Linked DNA regions of Homo sapiens: region 1 is linked to region 2. The links are contacts of gene promoters, found by promoter capture Hi-C in human tissues and cell types (Jung and others, 2019). All regions are on one chromosome and are shown on one strand. The core of a region is centred on a gene start or on the middle of the fragment in contact, and the rest is flanking DNA. Distances in the headings are between cores, read along the strand shown.

The links. The method cuts DNA at HindIII sites, captures the fragments that hold promoters and counts their contacts. A contact is called where the count stands out against the background at its distance.
Region 1: a contact is called between a fragment that was not itself captured here and the fragment with the promoter of OPRK1 in region 2, in 1 of the 25 tissues and cell types used here (mesendoderm cells).

What each region holds. Positions count from the first base shown.
Region 1 is chr8:52,966,390-52,972,500 of GRCh38, forward strand. No RefSeq gene overlaps it. Among named protein-coding and RNA genes, the nearest start is that of NPBWR1, 30 kb to the left of the region's middle. RefSeq lists an enhancer at 4,133-4,634. The HindIII fragment of the contact is 7,141 bases long and covers 1-6,111 here.
Region 2 is chr8:53,247,619-53,254,245 of GRCh38, forward strand. OPRK1 (opioid receptor kappa 1) reads right to left here and starts at 4,019. Exons shown (of 4, transcript NM_000912.5): 1 at 3,830-4,019; 2 at 3,163-3,467. The coding sequence starts at 3,419. The HindIII fragment of the contact is 8,793 bases long and covers 3,034-6,627 here.

The DNA of each region.
Region 1 (6,111 bases), core at 2,081-4,580, 280 kb before region 2:
AATAGCTTTATTTGTATGTTATTTTTATATTATCCCATACATTGGAATTTCTCCAAGTACAATCAATTTAAGCATAACATACTTTTTCTTTTCTTTTCTTTTTTTGAGACAGAGTCTCACTCTGTCGCCCAGGCTGGAGTGCAGTGGAGCATCTTGGCTCACTGCCACCTGCGCCTCCAGGGTTCAAGTGATTCTCCCGCCTCAGTCTCCCAAGTAGCTGGATTACAGGCGCCTGCTACCATACCCAGCTAATTTTTTGTATTTTTAGTAGAGATGGGGTTTCACCATATTGGCCAAGCTGGTCTCAAACTCCCAACCTCAGGTGATCCACCCAGCTCGGCCTCCCAAAGTGCTGGGATTACAGGCGTAATTTGGGATATGACAAATTTTACATTTGTTGACTTTAGTGCAACCATGGTGATATAACTGTTTTTAGTTTAATTCTTATAGAGAAAACTCTTTGGGAAAAAATATAAGGTTTGTTATATTAATAACTCTTTTGTCCTGAAGAGAACAACATGTTTCTTCCGTATTCTTTGCGTGTGTGTGATAAAGCAAAACAAATGCCTATTAATGCATTAAACAGGATCTAGTGGTAGGTCCAATCATATACTACAGTTTTGAAGTAGTAATAATAAACCATGCTTTGAGAATTCTGCAATGCCTGTACTGAGTTATGAACATTCCTCTCATTATTCTTGGTGACAAAGCCTTAGGTACTCCTAATTCTACTATAGTTTGTTGCCATGTTCATAATAGAAATGCAAAATTTTAGTTATAGATTAGAGAACCTTTTTTTTTCCTTTAATCCAAGTTCATAGATTGCCGAATTCTTTCTTTTTTCTTCTTTATGTCTCTTTTTATTAAATTTTAGGTTCAGGGGTACATGTGCAGATTTGTTATATAGGTAAATTGCATGTCACAAGAGTTTGTTTTACAGATTTCATCACCCAGGTAATAAGCATAGTCCCTGAAAGGTAGTTTTTCAATCATCACCCTCCTCCCACCCTCCACCTTCACATAGGTCCCGGGGTCTGTTGTTCTTGGGTATTCTTAGCCACTGCTCTTTTGGCTCAGTTGAGCTCACAGTGCTGGCAGTGATTCTATTTGGGAACAGTATCTGTGGGCACCTTTGCTTTTGATGCCAATTTTAAATCTTCTATTCAAATATGTAAGCTAGTAACCAAACTAAAGTGTAGAATTGACTTACTGATAACAAATGAAAATTTCCCTTTCAAAGAAAGGGGATATTTAGTAATCCTCTGTCACTTTTTCCTATACCGTGACTTAGTCATAGCTTTGGCATTTGTCATAATAACAGCCAAATATTTGGTCCAAAGTTACAAATGAAAATGTGCACAAAACTTTTTAAATAGAAGCAAATATGCCAGAAATGATTTGTATTATAAGTAGTTGAAAACAGTTTATACTACATTTTTTGGAAAATTTAAGACTTTGACTAGACATGTTTATCTGTATCTGCTTATATCTGTGTCCATCCACACACAATAGTTTATACTCTAGTATTTTTTTTTTTAAAATTAGACTTTGGCTAAAACAGCATATGCCTAATACCTATAGAATTCTATAATAATGTTTTCTATGATTCTGAAGATACTTCAGATTTGCCAGTGTCTCCAGTCAGTGTTAGAATTTTGCATATCTACCATTCCTTTTTTTAGTTATACTGGCCTGACAGTTAATAAAATATAGATGCTAAAATATCTGATAAGCAAGTTTTAAATATATGTCAATGTAAAAAGTCATGCTTTAAATACTAAAAGACTGCACTTTTCCCTGCTTACTTTTATTATTGTTTCCAAAAAGCGAAAAGGACATCGCTTTTGTAATGGTTTAGTACAGCATATGAACATTTCTGTCCAAAAGAAATTTACTTTAGAGGCATGAAACCAGGCCACAGCCACGCTTGACGACACAAAGTTCTGAGAGGTAAATCATGAGCAGCAATTTCAGGTCATTTCCCTGAGCAGGAGGGCATTTCAGCTAAGAAAGAACAGCAGAAAAATCATGTACACTCAGCATGCTGATTTACCCAGTGCAGAATAGCTCTTGTCTAGAAAGGAGCTAGATTAGAAGTCCAATTTTTTAAGTTTCATATAAAGGAGAATTAACAAGTAGTGCTTACAGAGAAAATGGTTGAAAATGCTTGTACTGAACCACGTTGAAGTATCTAAAGAAGTATGATATGCAGTCACCCAGGTTTATAGTATTACACATCTAGATATATCCACCATGAAGATGTTTGGCAATGTACAGGCAAAATGTCCAAATGGCTCTTTTTTAAAGCTTCTATTTGGATATTTTAATACTGGAAGAGGGCTCTAAGAAATGAAAATAGCTGAGTATCTGCATCCCATAATTAACCTATTATTCATTCATTCAATCACTCAAAAAACACATATTTGAAGTCTTACTATGTGCTACATCTGAACTATGTATTGAAGGCACAACAGTGAGCAAGGCATGCAGTCTCTGACCTCATGAGCCACAGATGGAGTTCATATTCATTAACTGAACATTTCCTCTGTGTCTGTGTGCTGTGCTGACCACTGGTACTGCAGAAATATAGGAAAAGGTTCCTATTTTCAGAGAGCTCATGGTCTAATGGTGGAGATGAACACATTCACTACAGGTGAGGCGTCCTGGTGTGTCCAACTGTGTCTTGAAATTGGTGGGTTCTTGGTCTCACTGACTTCAAGAATGAAGCCGTGGACCCTCGCGGTGAGTGTTACAGTTCTTAAAGGCAGCGTGTCCGGGGTTTGTTTCTTTTGATGTTTGGATGTGCTTGGAGTTTCTTCCTTCTGGTGGGTTCGTGGTCTCACTGGCTCAGGAGTGAAGCTGCAGACCTTCGCGGTGAGTGTTACAGCTCATAAAGGCAGTGTGGACCCAAAGAGTGAGCAGTAGCAAGATTTATTGCAAAGAGCGAAAGAACAAAGTTTCCACAGTGTGGAAGGGGACCCCAGCGGGTTGCCACTGCTGGCTCTGGGCAGCCTGCTTTTATTCTCTTATGTGGCCCCACCCACATCCTGCTGATTGGTAGAGCCGAGTGGTCTGTTTTGACAGGGTGCTGATTGGTGCGTTTATAATCCCTGAGCTAGACACAAAGGTTCTCCACATCCCCACCGGATTAGCTAGATCCAGAGTGTGGACACAAAGGTTCTACAAGTCCCCACCAGAGTAGCTAGATACAGAGTGTCTATTGGTGCATTCACAAACCCTGAGCTAGACACAGGGCGCTGACTGGTGTGTTTACAAACCTTGAGCTAGATACAGAGTGCCGATTGGTGTATTTACAATCCCTGACCTAGACATAAAGGTTCTCCAAGTTCCCACCAGACTCAGGAGCCCAGCTGGCTTCACCCAGTGGATCTCACACTGGGGCTGCAGGTGGAGCTGCCTGCCAGTCCGGCACCGAGTGCCCACACTCCTCAGCCATTGGGTGGTCGATGGGACTGGGCACCATGGAGCAGGGGGCAGCACTTGTTGGGGAGGCTTGGGCTGCACAGGAGGTCACGGCGGAGGTGGAGGGGAGCGGAGGCTCAGGCATGGCGGGCTGCAGGTCCTGAGCCCAACCCTGCCCCGTGGGAAGGCAGCTAAGGCCCGGCGAGAAATCGAGTGCAGCGCTGGTGGGCTGGCACTGCTGGGGGACCCAGTACACCCTCCGCAGCTGCTGGCCTGGGTGCTAAGCCCCTCATTGCCCGGGGGCGGCAGGGCCGGCCAGCTGCTCCTAGTGCGGGGCCGCCAAGCCCACGCCCACCTGGAACTCCAGCTGGCCCGCAAGTGACACGTGCAGCCCCTGTTCCTGCTCTCGCCTCTCCCTCCACACCTCCCTGAGAGCTGAGGGAGCTGGCTCTGGCCTTGACCAGCCCAGAAAGGGGCTCCCACAGTGCAGCGGTGGGCTGAAGGGCTCCTCAAGTGCCGCCAAATTGGGAGCCCAGGCAGAGGAAGCACCAAGAGCGAGCGAGGGCTGTGAGGACTGCCAGCACGCTGTCACTTCTCACTGGCATGAAGTGCACATGAGGTGTTATGAGAATGCAGTAAGAAATAGATTTATGACAGTGTTTCTTCTCTAATAGCTGCTAAAGATGGTTTACTCAGTCATAAAGAAGTCGCCTTGTAGTCCTAAGCTGGGTGTTTTATTTATTGATCTGTTAGTTTACAGACCATATTGGCCATTTCATTTATCTTGAAAATGAGAGTTTATCACTGAGATCCCATGGGGCTTTATATTAATTGCGTATTTAAAGAAAATTAAAAAAAAGAAACAAAATAGAGAAGTAAATGATTAGGTGTCATGATGTGGCTTTTGACTTATAAACCTGAATTTGAGGTAAAAAAAAAAACAGGTTTCCTACTCTGCAGCTCATCAATTCCCAGCAGGTGGCCCCATGTGGCTGGAGGCAGGGCTTCCATGAAGTGCTGAGACCTTAAAGCTGTGGCCTTTGCTCTCTTTCCCCTTGCCTTTGAGGCGTAAACTGAACAAATGTAGAGCAATTTTAGAAATCCAGTATAACTTAACAGATACAGGGCTTTCTGTTGTCTGAGTTTCAGAAGTCTGCCTTCATCTTTAGTTTCACTGAAATGTTGTCTCAGGTTGCCTGAGTCTTAAGAAAACAGGATCTTGATCCCTCTGTTTCACGTGAAAGGGGCAAACGCCTGTTCAGGCCTCACTTCCTGCCAAGCAGTCTTCTGACATCACAGGCCACCACCTGGCTGCCCCTGACTCACTTTCTCTGTCTCTAGCACTGCTGTTCTCTTATCTCACTCTTCTCATTTATTGTACATACTTCTTCGTGCTACCTTCAGGTCATCATAGATTAGCGTTTTCAAAACCCTGTTACTATCTCAGGTACCCATAAAATGATTCTTGTTTAAAGACTGAAAGGGGCTCTGTGATCATACACAACTGAATGCAGACAGAACTAGTCACTATGTTTGCCAATTTCATTAAGTGGGGGAAAAATAAAAAAACTTAGCCTTGGCAAGTGGGGAGCTTCATTTAGACAAGTCGATTGAATGCTCTACTTCCTAACAGGGTGCTTTGATCTCAGATAAACACATACATTAGAAATTATTATCCTAAAATGTTAGGTTTGCTTTTAAGAAATATTTTATGAAATGTTTCTGGTTATTTATAGGATAAAATCTAAAGCCTTTATCTTGTCATTCAAGGTTCATCAAAGTTGAGCCCCAGTTAAATTTTTAATTTTTTTTAATTGAAGTGAAACTCACATAAACAGTTTTAAAATGAAAAATTTAGTGACATTTAGTACATTCAAAAAGTTTGGCCACCACCACTTCTATCTAGTTCCAGACATTTTTATTACTCCTAAATAAACCCTGTGCCCATAGGCAGTCACTCCCCGTTCCTCTTTCCCCCAGCCACTGGCAACCACCAATCTGCTTTCTGTCTGTAAAGATTTGTCTGTTCTGAATATTTCATATAAATAGATTCACACAACATGTGACCTGCTGTGGCTGATTGCTTTGACTTAGCTAATGTTTTCGAGCTTCATTCATAGTGTGGTGTGACAGGAAGACCTTTTCACCTACCAATTTAGGTTCAGTGGCTGGGGCCTGCTAATTTAGCTGACAATGGACAGATTAACAGGAGAAAAGATAACGTTTATTCATATGTAGAACACAAAAGAAGTGGCTCCTGAACTGCTAAAGATAGAGGTTTATACGGCATCTTTCACAGGGGAAGAGGAGAGGGGAAAGGGGGCTTCTATGGGCAGATCCAATGGTTTCCTTATGAAAGACAAATCGATTTTTAGGGGAACAAATACAAGATAAGAAAATTTGTGATGACTTATGTTTAGGTAGGTACAAGTGGTCTTCATCTTTTTCTGGGCTGTAAAACTCCCTGGAGAGGGATTTTTGTGGCAGCCTCACTCCTAGAAGTTTCTGCTTCTAGTAGGATAAGGGAAGCTCCAAAAAAGCTGCTTTCTACATCTGTTGAATCTCAAATGCCTTCAGTTTAAAACAATCTTCATACCAACTCTGGGGGCTGAGTGGGTCCCCACAGTAGCATGTCTTTCTACAGCTGAAAAACATTACATGTTTTTCTACAGCATGTCTTTCTACAGT
Region 2 (6,627 bases), core at 2,769-5,268:
TCATGGTGTTCATTAATTAATGAAAAATGAAGACTGCACGGGGGAATCCTGCACAGGAGGAAGTCAGGAACCACAGGATTAGAATCATGATGGTCAGCCAAGTGTAGTGGCTCACACCTGTAATCCGAGCACTTTGGGAGGCCAAGGCCGGCAGATCACTTGAGATCAGGAGTTTGAGACCAGCCTGCACAACATGGTGCAACTCCATCTCTACCAAAAATACAAAAATTAGCATGGTGGTGCATCCCCATAATCCTTGCTACTTGGGAGGCTGAGGTGAGAGAATTGCTTGAGCCTGGGAGGCAGAGGTTGCAATGAGCTGAGATCATGCCGCTGCACTCCAGCCTGGGCAATAGAGCCAGATTCTGTCTCAAAAAAAAAAAAAAAAAAAAAAAAAAAAAGAATCCTGAGGGTCACACCCACATTCACACCCAACAACCACAAACCCCAAAGCCTGATGAGTGAGGGGGCTGGAGCACTGACATTTGAAGGTCTCCACAGTGAAAGTTAATGTGCCCTAATTATCAAGGGATTATGTCAGTTGGTACACACTAAATGATGAGAACTCTTGAAACTTTAAATCAGAAGATACGAGGCAGCATTCCAGGGGCCCAAGGTGGGAAAAGCTATTTGTAAGGCAGGCCTAAAAGTAGGCATATCTTTCTCCAGAGCTCTTTCTCCCCAGGTCTGAGCTGAACAGTCTAGATCTGCACCTGCCCACACTCTGAGCATCTAAGTTCCATTTCTACAATGATTTTCTATAAGGTTGAACTATGCTAGGAGCCTTTCCCATGTAAAACATATAAAATAGTATCCTTCATCTTTCAAGCACAGCTACTCAGTCTCTTCAGTAACAAGGGCTATGGGGCCTCCACACCCTGGTTCTGCACTCAGGCCTGATGATCACAACGCAACCCACTTCATGCCACCCTCTCTCTGATCTTCAGTCTCTTCATTTCCTAAGATAAATAAACCCAAGTACATCAATTCTTCTTCAAAGGTTTTATTTTTCAATCCTTGAACCATCTATCATTATGAAATAATACTAAATACTCCTTTTCCTTCTTAGCTATAGACTTGAGTGAACTAGGTTCACTAGACATTAACCTTTTACTTGTGAAGACCTTAAAATGTATGTGCTCTAGCCATAAGTGAACTAGATAGATTTCAGTAGGTTGGTACTCCAGGATGGCAGTAGAACTCTTCGCTTTTCATTCATCATCAAACGTAACCTTTAAGTATTGGGAGGTGGGAGAATGGAGAATGATGTATGTGAACTATCCAACTTCTTTTATATTTTTAGCTGAACTTATCCCCTTATAACACACTTTAGTGTTGGATATATTTGGGAAATCTATCCATTAAAAATCCTAGCTAATCTACAGGATTTTTTTTTCCTTCTTACATGTCAAATGTTCCCCATGGAGTTATATTTGCACATAACATCTAAATGTTATTTTAGGATTCTTCATTCTTTTTAATCCTAGTCTGCAAAAGGTTGTAGAGCAACTACAAAGCTCTTTTCAAACTGCAGACTTCAGGGGCTCATTCAAATAACAATATGTATCTGTTTTACTTGAGCACCTAAATATGATATGGGTAGAAACAGAGCTATTTTTTTTCCTAGAGCTTTCTTTTGCTTAACAATGTTTCTATTACCCCACCACCAAATAAATAGCTTCTGTACCAAAGATCTCCTAAAATTTTTAATTAAAATTTAGAATACAGTTGTCTTTTCTTTTGTCTAATTGTCTCTTTAGTGGAGGCCAGCCCTGAGATTACTAATGACTTGGACAAACAATTTAATTTTAAAATATTCCTTCCTTCTATAACCTTTACTCATCATGGATAGAATTCCTGCGAAATGCAATAGGCAATTATGAAAACCAAGGGCACCAAGCTATAAACACTAGTTGTTGATGAAATGAGCTTTATAATATGTGTTTGGCGACTTAAATGATGGTTTTTAATGTCAGAGCATACATAGGAATAAAAGACCTGACATTCTCAAGCAAAAAAGTAAAAATAAAAATAAAGCAGTATTTTATTATGATAATTTTCCAAGAGAAACATTTATGCTACCATTCATGATATGGTTGTTAAAGTTCATAATAAATAAATGGCCTGTTTCAAAACTAAAATCAAGCTTAAAAAAAATCAGCTATTCATCGTTTCAGAGTCCCTAGCCAGGGTGACTTGCATCCCGCCCTTATTTCATAGAGACTTCTCAAAGGAACACAAGCTTCCTACTCCCTCTCACAGGTGTGTTGACAAAGCTCTAGTGCTCCCAGAAAAGGAAACACATCTATCTTAAGAAAAGTGCAGAACAAAGTTAGGTTTTCCTTTTCTTGTTTTTCTTTCTTAAAGTCAGAATCACTTTGCTTACCAAAAAATTAGCATATATGTGGATATTGGGATACTTATTATTGGAAGTTGACTTGAAGAAATTTCCACACACACACACACACACACACACACACACAAATAAAACCTTCAATTTCTCATGGTGAAAAAAACAGCGAAGTAGTTTTTGAAAATCTCCACAGGCCATGTTTTAGAGGATAAATATTATTTACTGATATTCCTAACAAATGGGATGCCATTTGATACTAAAAAGGCTCATATATGCATATCAACAACGCTAGAGCATATATCAGGTTTTGTTTCATAAGCCAAAACACCAGTCTGAGGAGTCCCAGGAAATTCGGAATTATCTTCAGTGCATTGGGTGGGCTTGAAATTTATCTTAAGAAATATTTGCAAAGGGCATAACAAAGTGCTCCAAACTGGCGCAGGCAAATGGATTAGTTCCTTTACCAGGAACCCCTGACCCTGTTGTCAGCACCCTGGCACCTTGCCCTGCGCATAGAGTTTTCAGCAGAAACACTGGGCCCTAGGGTGGGGTCGGGGGGTTACTCTGAAATCTTCCAGACGCCCCTGGCCGCTCGGATTCGCCTGTGTGAACCTCTCAGCACTCCACCAAAAACTCCCAGAAAATCCTTCACCTCTTCTAGGAAGCCACCCTGTAGCATTTCCAGGATCCTTCACGGAACAGAGTCCCCACCACCTGGCTGGCTGCCCCCACTGCTGCTCCAGTGGCGGGGCCTGACCCTCACTCCCTGCCCCGCCCAGCCCCCAGCGCTGCGCTGTCCCCGCGCTCACCGGATGATCACGAACATGACCAGCGAGTTGCCCACCAAGCCCACGACGAACACTACGGAGTAGACCGCCGTGATGATGACCGGGATGGCCGGGGAGATGTGCGCGGGCTCCAGCTGCGCGTCCTCCGAGCCGGCGCTGCCGTTGCTGTCGGGCTCGGCCCAGCCGGGAAACCAGGCGCTGCTGTTGGGGGGCAGGCAGGCGCTCGGGGCGCAGGTAGGGCCCGGCTCCCCGCGGAAGATCTGGATCGGGGAGTCCATGGTGGGGCGATTGCAGCAGGAAGGCGAGGACAGGCGGCACCTGCGGCGCTGCGGGAGCGAAAGAACCGGCTGGACGCGGAGAGGCAAACTTTGCCCGCGCCCTGGCCAGCGGCGCTGGGGACCCGGAGCCTGCGGACTCCCACCCGGGCCGCAAGTCGCCGGGGGCAGGACAGGGAGAACGGACTTCTCGCTGCCTTTCCGGCCAGCAGGCGCGCCGCTGGGTGCCAGAGAGGGGCGAAGAGCGCTCGCTCCTTCTCCCCCAGCCCCTGAGGTGCCTCCCTCACCAATTCTAGGCACCGGCCCCTGGTGGAACTGTCCCCAGACTGCCTGAGTCCCCAGGGTCAAGCCCCCTTCCCACCTCCCAGCACGGAGCTCTACCTAGAACTGCACCTCGAAAGCCCAAAGCTTACCTATGGTTCCCAGAGACAGGCGAAGGCGAGGTTTTTTACGGGACGCCCTGGTAGGTGCTGAACCGCGCGCTCACGAGTCCCGCTCAGCTCTTGGCATCACCTGCTCTCGGACCCCGGCCCCGCTCTCCGCCCGAGGGCTGCTGTTCCGCCGAGCGCAGCCCCCGCCTCTCAGCGCACGTCTCCCACTACTGGCGGCGGCTCTGCGGGGCGGGGCGGGGCGGGACCGGCGGGACGCAGCCGGGACGCGGCTGGGCGCTGGGGGCCTGCGGGCGGAGAGCTCGTCTGGTGCGCCCGCCCCAGGCCGGCAGGTCCCTGCCCCGCCCCGCCCGCCCGGAGTCAGCCCCCAGCTCCCCAGCCTCCCAGCCCCGCGTCCCCTCCAGCCCCGCAGGCTCGCCCGGCCCACTAACTGCCCGAGCGGCACACCGCCTGGTCCCCGGCCATGCAGCCTTCCCCAAGACCTGAGACTGAGCCATTTAGATTTAGTAAAAAGGAGGAGCATGCCTATTTAGTGCAAGTATGCACCTGGATTTTCATATTGTGTCTAGAACTTCTTATCTGCATAGTTCGCAGTCAGGAACTACGCTTATTAGAATGGCCCATCCAAAGAAAGTAACAAAATGATCCAGTTAGAATAAGACCAGTTCATAAAATAATGACTTAAAAGACACATAAATAGAATATTTCCTTGCGTTCTCTTCCATTCCGTCTGCTCTAACTGGGATGACAGGCTGCAGACAAACTGCACCTTACGGGTATTACCTGAATTGCTGATAGTATCTGAGAAGGGCAAAACACTCTCCTTACCCGGGCCTCAGTGGTGCTCCAGGGAGGTGACAGTGTCTCTGTTTTACATTAATCCCTGCAGCCATCACGTTCTCCTCACTTCTCCCTCACAGTAGGGCTGCCTCCATTATACGGCCGCGAATCTGAGCGTCCGTAAATAAACTGTCACCATCATTTCTTTGCAAAACTCTGCTAGTCCAAGGGTAGCTGTCAGATCCTGCTGAGTGAGAGACATTCTCTTCTCAGGCAAAGGGACCGGCAAGACACAAAGGGAGCAAGGGCTCAGCCCCTGAGGTGAAGGTTCTGAAAGGGAGTGGGGAAGTTCCCCTTCTCCACAGGGTACTGGAGACAGGCCTGGGGGAGACTGGGGGTTTAGGCACCTCAATTTCCCCAGTGGATTCACTGCCTCAGGCTGACAAACACAGGTCCCCACTGCATCCCACAGCTAATGTCCATGCCACACCTGGACACACTAATGACTGATACAGCCCTTCCCTCCATCAGCGGAGGGCAGAAGGGGGTTCCTGTCTCTTTCAAGACGCCATGACCCCAAAGTGGGATTTGACCACCAGCGTCTTGCCGCCTGGAGATGAACAACTCTTTTGAGCAGTGTAATATGAAGAGCATAAGGAAATCTTCCCTTTGTTCAACCATATCCCTTCAACCCTTTCAAATAATTTTGAAAATTATTATCAAGTCTTAGAGTTCTTTTAAGTCTGATTGCAAACTGTCATTGAAGGATCACATCTCCTTCAGTAACACATCAGACCTGCTGAGACCTCATAAGGGCCTCAGTAGTTTTATTTCATTTGAGCACTCTTACCTTTCTTGTTTACCAAATTAATGGCCAAAATAAAGGGAAGACAAAATGAACAGAGCATTGAGAAGCCCTCAGGTGGCTCAGGTTGCCAGGGGAACCCACTCGAGTCTCTAAATCCAGGAAGTATGGCTGCTTCTGTGGAGTCATGCTCTTAGGAGTATGCAATTTTATCATAATATCAGATAAAAGCTCATAAAATAGAAAGGAAAAGTAAACTGCTAAAATGCTATATACTGTTACACACTGATATAAAGCACATGTGGTTATACTTGGCCATTCTACTCAATGCAAACACTATGCTTATAACTAAGTACATGGAAAGCACTTTTAAAGATGAAAATGTGGAGATTTTTATTGGATAATGCTACAATGCTAAGGAGCATCCTGGGTAGTGGGTGGCTTTGACATTTTTGTTAGATAGACTAGATAACCCACCAGTAAATTGCAATTAACTCCCTTTCTTGTGGCTCCAACAACAGATATTGTTGTGCAGCAATGAGTGCAGAGCTGGAGGGAGCAACTTCATTAGCTTAAGACCCCAGTGCAGCCAATGGAGTCTTGCTGAGCCGGGATGCAGCTGGCTTCAGCTCACTTCACTCAGCAGATATTGCAGAGTATCCCCAAGTGGCTGAAGAAAAGGCACCCTCTGGGGATACAACAATACCAACACAGAGACAATCTCTTCTCAAAGAGGATGTGAAGCTAGTGTGACACATGGGATCTAAATTTTTTTAATGTTAGGAATAATTAATAAATAATTAATAACAAATTCATCCAACTCTGGCAAATGTTATGTGGAAAGGTGTTTAATAAACAGTGATAGCCAGTGCAGCAAATTTGCATGAAATTTAAAAATAGCATCCCTTTCATAAGGCACTTTACTTAGATCTGTCAGCAAGTTGTTATAATAAATACCCAAATCAGTCTTGTCTTCGGTGTGAAGCATACTGTGAGATACTGCACACTTAGGTGCAGTGTAGTCTACACAAGTGTGCAGATCCCCTGAAGAAGACCTGGTGTCTGGGAACCCTGCTCAGTCAGAGAACATCAGGGAAGCCCTTCTTGAAATGGCATTGAAGCTGATATTTAAGGATTGCAGTTATGGCAGTTATCCAGGAGAGGGGGAAGAAAGAGCATTCCACAGCATATGTGAAGAATGTAGATGGTCAAGAGTGGGGCATTTCTGTGGCACCCT